Regions from separate parts of the Homo sapiens genome. Here region 2 is linked to region 1. Evidence: promoter capture Hi-C in 16 types of primary human blood cells and fetal thymus (Javierre and others, 2016). All regions are on one chromosome and are shown on one strand. The core of a region is centred on a gene start or on the middle of the fragment in contact, and the rest is flanking DNA. Distances in the headings are between cores, read along the strand shown.

Region 1 (4,431 bases), core at 190-2,689:
CATCACCACAGCTGGCTATTTTTTTTTTTATTGTAAAGACAGGGTCTCACTATGTTGCCCAGGCTGGTCTTAAACTCCTGACCTGAAGTCATCCTCCCAGCTCAGCCTCCCAAAGCATTGGGATTACAGGCATGAGCCTCCAAGCCAGGCCTATATAGTATTTTAAAGCAAGCCTCAGCAAACTTTTTCTCAAAGGGCCTGATTATAAATATTTTAAACTGTGTTAATCAAGAGATAAAACTGAGGATATTACATAGGCACTTATATAACAATTTAAAATATAACCATTTTTATTTTACTTACTTATTTATTTATTATTTTATTTTTTGAGACGGAGTCTTGCTCTGTCATCCAGGCTGGAGTGCAGTGGTGCAATGTGATCTTGGCTAACTGCAAGCAACCTCCGCCTCCCGGGTTCAAGCGATTCTCTTGCCTCAGCCTCCCTAGTAGCTGGGATTACAGGCGCACCCATCACGCCTGGCTAATTTTTGTATTTTTAGTAGAGACGGGGTTTTACCATGTTGGCCAGGCTGGTCTCGAACTCCTGACCTCAAGTGATCTGCCCTCCTTGGCCTCCCAAAATGTTGGGATAATGGGCGTGAGCCACTGCACCTGGCCTAAAATATAACCATTTTTAAATGGAAAAAAAACATGATTGGGTCACAGGCTATACAAAAACAGCAGACTAGATTTGGCCCATAGGGTGAAGTTTACTCACCCTTGCTCTGGAGAATCGATTAAGCATTTGCATATTTATGTATCTGTCTCCCCTAGTAGACTATGCACAAGGCCATATATCAGACGTTCTTGTATCCCCAGTGTCTAGATCAGAGTCTGGTGTATAGTAGGCACTCAGTACTAAGTTGTTGGGTAAATGGATAAATGAATGATTGAACAGGACCCTGATCCCTTGAGGAGAATGAAACCAGAATTCTGGATGCCTCATTCCCCACTTTTCTTCATCTGACTTGGTTTCTCAAATGTGCTAGGGTGTCACATGGGTCCCTCTGACTTGAACCATGTCTAAGCCGTGGAGACAAGAAAGGTAGTGCTCCTCTGAAACAAACCCAAGGCTTCTGGGGGTACCTAAAGTTGCTCCTGGAACTTGGTCTTATCTTTTGGCCCTTTGAGGAGTGGCCCAAATGTTCTGATGCTCTGACTCCGTGCCCTAGCAATTCTTGGCAATGATCTTACAGATGAGTTCTGCCATGCAAAGAGGGGAAGAAAACAGAGTTTGGGTTTCAGGAAGGAGAAAGGAAGAGTGAAACCACTCTGAGGTAAGTAGCGGGGGACTTTCAACAGAGAAGCCTAGATTTCACTAGCCGAAGCAAAATGAGTAGGACCGGAGGTGGTGAAGGAAGTGGCTGGGATTGGGTAATGGGGGAGTTTCTTATTCTTTCAGTGGACTATAATAGGATACATAAGAGCAGGATGTCTCCTGCTTGAAGCCTAACTGTCCACCAGAAAGGACTGCTCTTTGGGTGAGTTGAACTTCTTCCATTATAGAAAGAATTGAAGGCTGAGAAACTCAGGTAAGCACTTTTGTTGTGGGTATACTTTTACCTTCTTGGTCTCCTCATCTCCCAGGTGGTAACAAACAGAAATGACTAAAGCCTATATGTGTGTGTAGTGGAAAGGAGCAGAGGGAACTGAATACAGAGAGGATCCTGAATACACGATGCTGAATAGAGAGAGGGGACTCCTGGGGGTCTTTGGGGATGGGGAAGGAATTAAAAAAGTTGGAGGGCACTGGGTTTACTGAGAGCAGCGGGATGGATATAGAAGAGGACTGAGGTTTGGAGCAGAATAAGACTAAGATATTTAGGCAAGAGATATTTAGATAAAAACTTGGGGAAATATTTGAGAATGGGAAAGGACTAAGAGAACCTAAGGAGAGAGTTAGGGATCTTGAGATGAAGAGGCCTGGGAATGGTTCAGGAGGATACTGAATTAAGGTGAGGTCCAGGAACAGTTTAGATGTCCAGGGTCCCAGAACTGTTCAAGAGATCTAAGTTGAATGCTAGGTTCTGATTCCCTCTTCCTCTTCCACCCTCTGCCTCTTTAGCCTCTATCATGTGGAACAGCTCTGACGCCAACTTCTCCTGCTACCATGAGTCTGTGCTGGGCTATCGTTATGTTGCAGTTAGCTGGGGGGTGGTGGTGGCTGTGACAGGCACCGTGGGCAATGTGCTCACCCTACTGGCCTTGGCCATCCAGCCCAAGCTCCGTACCCGATTCAACCTGCTCATAGCCAACCTCACACTGGCTGATCTCCTCTACTGCACGCTCCTTCAGCCCTTCTCTGTGGACACCTACCTCCACCTGCACTGGCGCACCGGTGCCACCTTCTGCAGGGTATTTGGGCTCCTCCTTTTTGCCTCCAATTCTGTCTCCATCCTGACCCTCTGCCTCATCGCACTGGGACGCTACCTCCTCATTGCCCACCCTAAGCTTTTTCCCCAAGTTTTCAGTGCCAAGGGGATAGTGCTGGCACTGGTGAGCACCTGGGTTGTGGGCGTGGCCAGCTTTGCTCCCCTCTGGCCTATTTATATCCTGGTACCTGTAGTCTGCACCTGCAGCTTTGACCGCATCCGAGGCCGGCCTTACACCACCATCCTCATGGGCATCTACTTTGTGCTTGGGCTCAGCAGTGTTGGCATCTTCTATTGCCTCATCCACCGCCAGGTCAAACGAGCAGCACAGGCACTGGACCAATACAAGTTGCGACAGGCAAGCATCCACTCCAACCATGTGGCCAGGACTGATGAGGCCATGCCTGGTCGTTTCCAGGAGCTGGACAGCAGGTTAGCATCAGGAGGACCCAGTGAGGGGATTTCATCTGAGCCAGTCAGTGCTGCCACCACCCAGACCCTGGAAGGGGACTCATCAGAAGTGGGAGACCAGATCAACAGCAAGAGAGCTAAGCAGATGGCAGAGAAAAGCCCTCCAGAAGCATCTGCCAAAGCCCAGCCAATTAAAGGAGCCAGAAGAGCTCCGGATTCTTCATCGGAATTTGGGAAGGTGACTCGAATGTGTTTTGCTGTGTTCCTCTGCTTTGCCCTGAGCTACATCCCCTTCTTGCTGCTCAACATTCTGGATGCCAGAGTCCAGGCTCCCCGGGTGGTCCACATGCTTGCTGCCAACCTCACCTGGCTCAATGGTTGCATCAACCCTGTGCTCTATGCAGCCATGAACCGCCAATTCCGCCAAGCATATGGCTCCATTTTAAAAAGAGGGCCCCGGAGTTTCCATAGGCTCCATTAGAACTGTGACCCTAGTCACCAGAATTCAGGACTGTCTCCTCCAGGACCAAAGTGGCCAGGTAATAGGAGAATAGGTGAAATAACACATGTGGGCATTTTCACAACAATCTCTCCCCAGCCTCCCAAATCAAGTCTCTCCATCACTTGATCAATGTTTCAGCCCTAGACTGCCCAAGGAGTATTATTAATTATTAATAAATGAATTCTGTGCTTTTAATGCTCAGGTGTGGTCTCTGGGGAAGAAGGAAACAGGTCACGGTTAGGCTCAGGGGCCAGGCTAGGAGGAGACCATACTATTCCATCCCTCCTGCATGACGAAATCCTGTCACCATGTGCATGCTCACACATATCCCTAAAGCACCTGTGGCCACCAGGAGCTGGAACCTAATACCTAAGGATTCAGGGGTACCTAGGTCAAAGCAGGAGCAGGAAGCAGCTGGCCTGGGACATAGCCTTTAGAAGAGGGGTTTCTAGGTAATAAAACATGTGAGGTGATTTAAGAGGATTAGCCTGCCTTTTTGTTTAATTTCCCAGAAATGGCCTCTGCCCCTAACCACTGCTGCCAGGATCCGCCATCCCTACAAACAAGTTTATTCAGCTCAAAAAAGTTTTATAATCCAGCTTTGATATCTACTCCAGTGGGACCAGTCCCCCAGCCCTCACTCTGTGCGAAGGGAATGGTCATGGAGGAGGACTCCTTGGTCTGTAGAAATGGAACTGAGCTTAGTTAAGGCAAAGGCAGAAAAAGGTTCCAGCTGCCCTGGCAGGGTCCTGCCCATGGGGCTAATTCACCTGAGTCCCAGGCCCTCAGTTGCCTTGCATTTGTCATCTGGACTTATGAAAGCAAGAGAACAGGCCTGGTGGGGTGTCTCACACTTGTAATCCTAGCACTTTGGGAGGCGGAGGTGGGCAGATCACCTAAGGTCAGGAGTTCAAGACCAGCCTGGCCAACGTGGTGAAACCCCGTCTCTACTAAAATACAAAAATTATGGGCCAGGCACGGTGGCTCATGCCTGTAATCCCAGCACTGTGGGAGGCAGAGGCAGGTGGATCACCTGAGGTCAGGAGTTCGAGACCAGCCTGACCAACACAGAGAAACCCCATCTCTACTAAAAATAGAAAAATTAGCCCGGCATGGTGGCGCATGCCTGTGATCCCAGCTACTCAG
Region 2 (4,945 bases), core at 875-3,374, 340 kb after region 1:
GTCTTGGGAAGGAGGGGAGAGAACTTGTTCTTTGTTTCTATAAAACGAGCCTAAAGAAATCAGAGAACACTACCCCCCAACCCCATCAGGCTTGCAGGTCTCCTTGCTACTGCTCTGGCCCCTTAGCCTCCCAAATCAGGCATTCGGAAGGGGCTTGGTGTCAAGAGCAGATTTTCACTTTCAGAGAAGCTTTAATTAGTGGATTCAAAAACAGAATTCAAAAAACACAGAAAAAGAATACAAGGGAAAAATTGCCACTTGCTTCTCCAGTCCTCTCCAATGCAAAACACATGCTTTTGATAGCGCTAATTATAGGAGAGAAATTTACTGCCTGCGCCTTGGACCTGAGTGGGGTGCAGTCACTGGCCTGGAGTCCCCAAGGATAAGGGTGGCATTGCAGCCTGGGCACTTGGGGATTTCCCTAGGCAAGTTAAATGCTACCACTCCAGCCTTACTCCCCTTTAGGCCAGGGAAAGGCTGGGGGCATGTGAGCTCTGAACTGGGGAAAGGGTGGGTGGGACTGGACCCAGCCTGAAGAAGTTCGTGGGCAGGCCTCACCTTGCTGGCCTTTGCTTTCCACTCAGCTCTGGGAAATATATTAATTTCCTGGGGAGGGATATTTGAAGTGAGAGGGATGAGATCTGGAATTTTTATTTGGGGACAATATTTTCCAGAGGTCCTCCTTAGTTGTGTTCTCCCTGTCTCCTCTCTCTCCCCAGATCCCCTAACTCTGCGCGGATGTTTGTAACTCACCAACCCTCGCACACAGATACACATACTCCATTCCTGACTGCCGCGCTGCAACTACAGCTCGGTGCCTCCTGAGGCTGCTCGGGGACCCAAGCACTGGAGCCTCAGGACTCAGTGCTCAGCCTCAGCGCCTGGCCTGGGTGCTCAGCTGCCTGGACGCGACCGCAGCTGCCCGACCCTGCCCCCACCACCCCCAAGTCTCACTTTTCTGAGCAAGAGAAGAACGGTTGCCCCGCTGGCCCCTTTTGTGCCACTGGGCGAGGGCTAAAATCCCTCTTACGGAGAAAGCCGAGTTTCAGTAATTGCTCAGCTCCCCTCATAATCACACTATTTGGTTAAGGCTTTGCTGTTCTGGAGCGACTGCTCAGTTGGCCCGATTGGTCTATGATTAGACTTTTTTATTTAGAAATTAAAAAATAAATTCTACTCCAAATGCCTGGTGTTTTGTGTATAAATAAGCTCCTTTGATCTCCATGGAACTCCTAGTCAAAGGATCAGATCGCAAAGAGCCTCCTGGTCTGCCAGAGAACCTGAATGCAGGGAATGCTGTTTGGGAACACCAAAGCATGGCTCACCTAAGGGGCTTCCAGTTTCCCATAGATATGATGGGGGAAGCTGTCTGAGCACATACCTGCCCCCGCTACACACACCGCATTCCAAAAAGGTACACTCCTCCTTTCAAAGTTTAGGCATGGAGAGAAGTGAAATTTGACACACCTAACACAGAAATGGATATCATTTGGGGGTGCTAATATTTTGGGGACAGGGCCCGGGCTGACCAGTTGAAGGGAGCTGGGGATCAGCAGGGAGGGGGAAAGGAGGAAGAGGGCAGATTGGGCATGTTAAGCTGCTGAGAACTGCCCCCAAACACCTCCAAGGCCTGCGCTGGTGATTCCTCTTTTGAGCTAAGAGGTTGAGAGGCTACCCGAGCTGCTTTTGCTTTATTACAATTAAACGGAGAAGAAAGGTATATGGAAGGGCTCTGCTAACTCATGTCACATTTCCTCTCCTCCCTCTCTCTTTCCAGATTTCTGCCTGACCTTTCCTTACCAGCACTTCACTTATTGCTGCTACCATCAGCAGATACAAACTCTCACATTGGCATTTGTTTGGCTTCTCAATTCACTTCTCTGACTTAAGGTTAAAACGTAAAATAGGTCCCAAACATCTCTACCCCATCACGCTCAGCCCTGAGCCCCCTTCCAGCTCCATCTGGAAAAAATCATTTCTGGCTTTTTGGGGGCTGGTGCCCAAGCCTCCCACCTCTATTCCAAGCAGCTGAGTATTAGCTGAGGAGGGGGCTTGGGGAGAGCCTGGGGACACAGCTCTCTGTGATCTGGGAATGGGGAGAGAGCTTAGATGCCTAGGGACACTTGAGGGGGGCAAAGCAAGTGGCCCTGCTTGGCCCAGGAGAAAAATTAAAATGCAGAATATCCAGAATATTTTCAGCCCCCAGAATAGGGCCTCAAGAGGATGTCACATGAGGAAGAAGCCGCAATAGGGGGTGTGCTGCTCTGCACTGGGTCAAAGGATCCCCAGCCTCCTGGCTTCTTCTATACCCCTCCACATGAAGCACTGCTTGGACCCATTTGAGAGGTTCATGAGAATTATAAAATTCAAGAACTCGGTATTATGACATCACAGTGAGTTGTCATATAGAAATTGTAAATGTCCTACCAGTTATACATGGCAGGAGTTTTGTGTGTGGGTTCCTGCCCTCCTTTCATGTTTTTTCCTTTCCCCCTCTTTCTCCCCCTGGTCTAACCTCTCCTGCTTGAAAATAAAATGTTGTTATGTTCTGGAACAATATGCCAACAATAAAACAGCATCCTCATTTCCCTATAAATAATTTTATCCTTTATTGTTTGCAGATCTGAAAGAACCATTTAATCTGTGCTGGCAAAAAGAGAGAGAGAGAGACTGGGAGGGGAAAATTAATTTCAGAAATGAGAATATTACTTACTTCAATGATACTCTTTTAAATTTAATAGCTAGCAGCAAAATTAAAGGCCAAAAGCCAACTATCTGACTCTACACCTGGCAGGATTGGAGACATATAGGATCTTTAGCAAAGGGGCAATTTAATTTTGTAGGATTTGCTTAAATTCACTGCAATTTTGGGGGGCTGAGGAGAGGGAGTGTGGGAGAAGAATGACATGCTATATCTAGCTTTATGAATCCACCAACATTACCCTGATTTAAAACCCAACAACCTGTGTCTCAGGGAAACTCCTGCAGAAAGGAGTGGGGTAGTGGGGGACTGGGTTGATGGGGGTGGGCTCAACTTTCTCAATGAGTGTGGCCCCCTTAACCAAGTGGTCACCAGGGGAAGGAAGAAAAGCCTAGGCAAGGGAAGGGCTGCTCAGAAGTCTGTCCACCACAGGGACACCCAGAGGTTTATGGTGTCCCCATAATTCCCCTGACCCTATAAACAGCTGCCCTGTTTTAAGACTATTTCTGCTTCCTCCCCTCCGAAAGGGAGAATGCAGGAGCTTGTGAGGGCAGGAGGGGGTTGCTGGAAAGGGGAGGGAGTCCGGGGATAGCACAGCACTTTGTTCTCCTGGGCGAGTTCGCTGGTTTGGCGGGTTTCTGACGCAGGGTGGCAGCAGACAAAACAAGTAAACAACTCACAGACACAATAAACAGGAGCGGCTGCGGCGCCGTGGCAGAGGCCGTGGGCTGGGCGAGGGGCACAATCCTGGAGTAATGTCACCCCAGTGCCTGGGGTGACCAAGGCCCAGAAAGCCTAAGGCTGCCCTCCTTGAAGGGCGGGAGGAAGGTGGAAGAAAGCTGCACACCTCTTGGTGCAGCCTGTCTGGACAAGAGTCTTGGGAGGAACCCGATCACCTAGAGAGAGTAGCGGAAAACCCCTCCAGCCCCGCTCTGGTCCCTGCTTTCTTTTATGGGGTTTTCCACTGACATTGATATTTCCCCTCTGCTCTGTCTTTTTGTGTCTCTGGAAGGGAAAAAGGCTGGGAAAGGAGGCCCATCAATTCTCAGCCTTGGTAGCCCATACTCAGTGCTCCAGGCCACAGGCAGCGGGTCCAGCGTCCTCTCCCGTGCTGCCCGGACCAGCCGTCTCCCTGACCAGGTCTTGTCCTGGCTCAGATAGCGACGAGGATTAAAACGCAGTTCATCCAGTAACCAGATCTGGGTATTTGGGGGACCTTAGAGAACTCCCAATCTGCCGCCACGGATGCAGGCAAATCGGGCTGGGGCGGGGTGAGCGGCCGGCTGGGGCAAGCAGGGGGAGAAACAGATATTCACTGCATCCCTACCCCTTTTGGCTTGCCTTTTCCACAAGCTTCTCCAAGCACCCTGGCCAGCAGCTGCCCCAGATCACTGTCCAGAGGCCACCTTATTAACCACTCTGATCCCTTCATCGCTCCAGTGAGGCTTCCAGCGCCAGGGCCCTGACTACTCCGAACTGCTTGCAGCCCCACCATGCCCGTGAAAAGAATCCCGCAGAACTCAATTTCAAGACAACTGGTCTCCCTTGTAAAATAATTTCTAAGTTGGGAGAGTTTGCCAGGAGGTGTGGAGAGAAAGCAGAAGGGATTTAGTATTTCCCCAGTCCAGCTGCTTGGGCAACAAAAGCAATAAGGTCTGAGAAAGCCTTTATGGCATCCATTGGTTACTGGAACCCGCATACTCCGATTCCAGTGAGCACATATTTCCAGCAGAGCATGCACAGAGGGCCTGCTCAGTGCACCCGGTGCCTCCATGAGCCCACTCTCATCTAGTGAGGACTAACAAAATTTTGCATGAACATAAAATGGTGTTTGAGCGAATATAGGCATGGTAATATACAATTAACCACCAAGGAAATATGAGTCTGTATATATTCATGCATAAGCCTGAGTCTGTATATTTAAGCCTGTATATAATAAATATATAACACTCCCAAGCCTGGTTTCAGAACACAGCCAACCCAACAAGGTCGCCTTCTCCAAACAAGGTCGCATTCTGTCGGGATCACAACTGTCAGACCAGGGTGAGAAAGGGTTTGCTCTGCCCAATTCTCCTTAGCTAGGAACCAGCACATGAAATACAGCGGATGGCAGGGCTGACAAAGCCCCTTATAAGGGGGGCAGGCAAGCCTAAGGGTGCCCAAAGAGTGGGCTCAGAGGGGGAGGCTCCAAGGAATGTTGCCAGGCCCTGACCCACAGATTCAGTGTCTCTGCCCCGGGTGTGC

What was found. Contacts are between HindIII fragments. The CHiCAGO score rates a contact against its expected background, and 5 or more counts as called.
Region 2: a contact is called between a fragment that was not itself captured here and the fragment with the promoter of GPR84 in region 1, in 1 of 17 cell types (neutrophils). The highest score is 5.7, in neutrophils.

The regions. Positions count from the first base shown.
Region 1 is chr12:54,361,494-54,365,924 of GRCh38, reverse strand. It overlaps GPR84 (G protein-coupled receptor 84), which reads left to right and starts at 1,439. Exons shown (of 2, transcript NM_020370.3): 1 at 1,439-1,532; 2 at 2,066-3,480. The coding sequence starts at 2,074. The coding sequence ends at 3,264. The region is part of intron 1 of GPR84-AS1 (GPR84, ZNF385A, ITGA5 and GTSF1 antisense RNA 1); the gene reads right to left. RefSeq lists an enhancer at 1,421-1,510. The HindIII fragment of the contact is 7,569 bases long and covers 1-2,453 here.
Region 2 is chr12:54,020,237-54,025,181 of GRCh38, reverse strand. It overlaps a transcript of HOXC4 not described here, a transcript of HOXC5 not described here and a transcript of HOXC6 not described here. Among named protein-coding and RNA genes, the nearest start is that of HOXC6, 5.7 kb to the left of the region's middle. RefSeq lists enhancers at 3,244-3,453, 3,521-4,945. The HindIII fragment of the contact is 3,865 bases long and covers 192-4,056 here.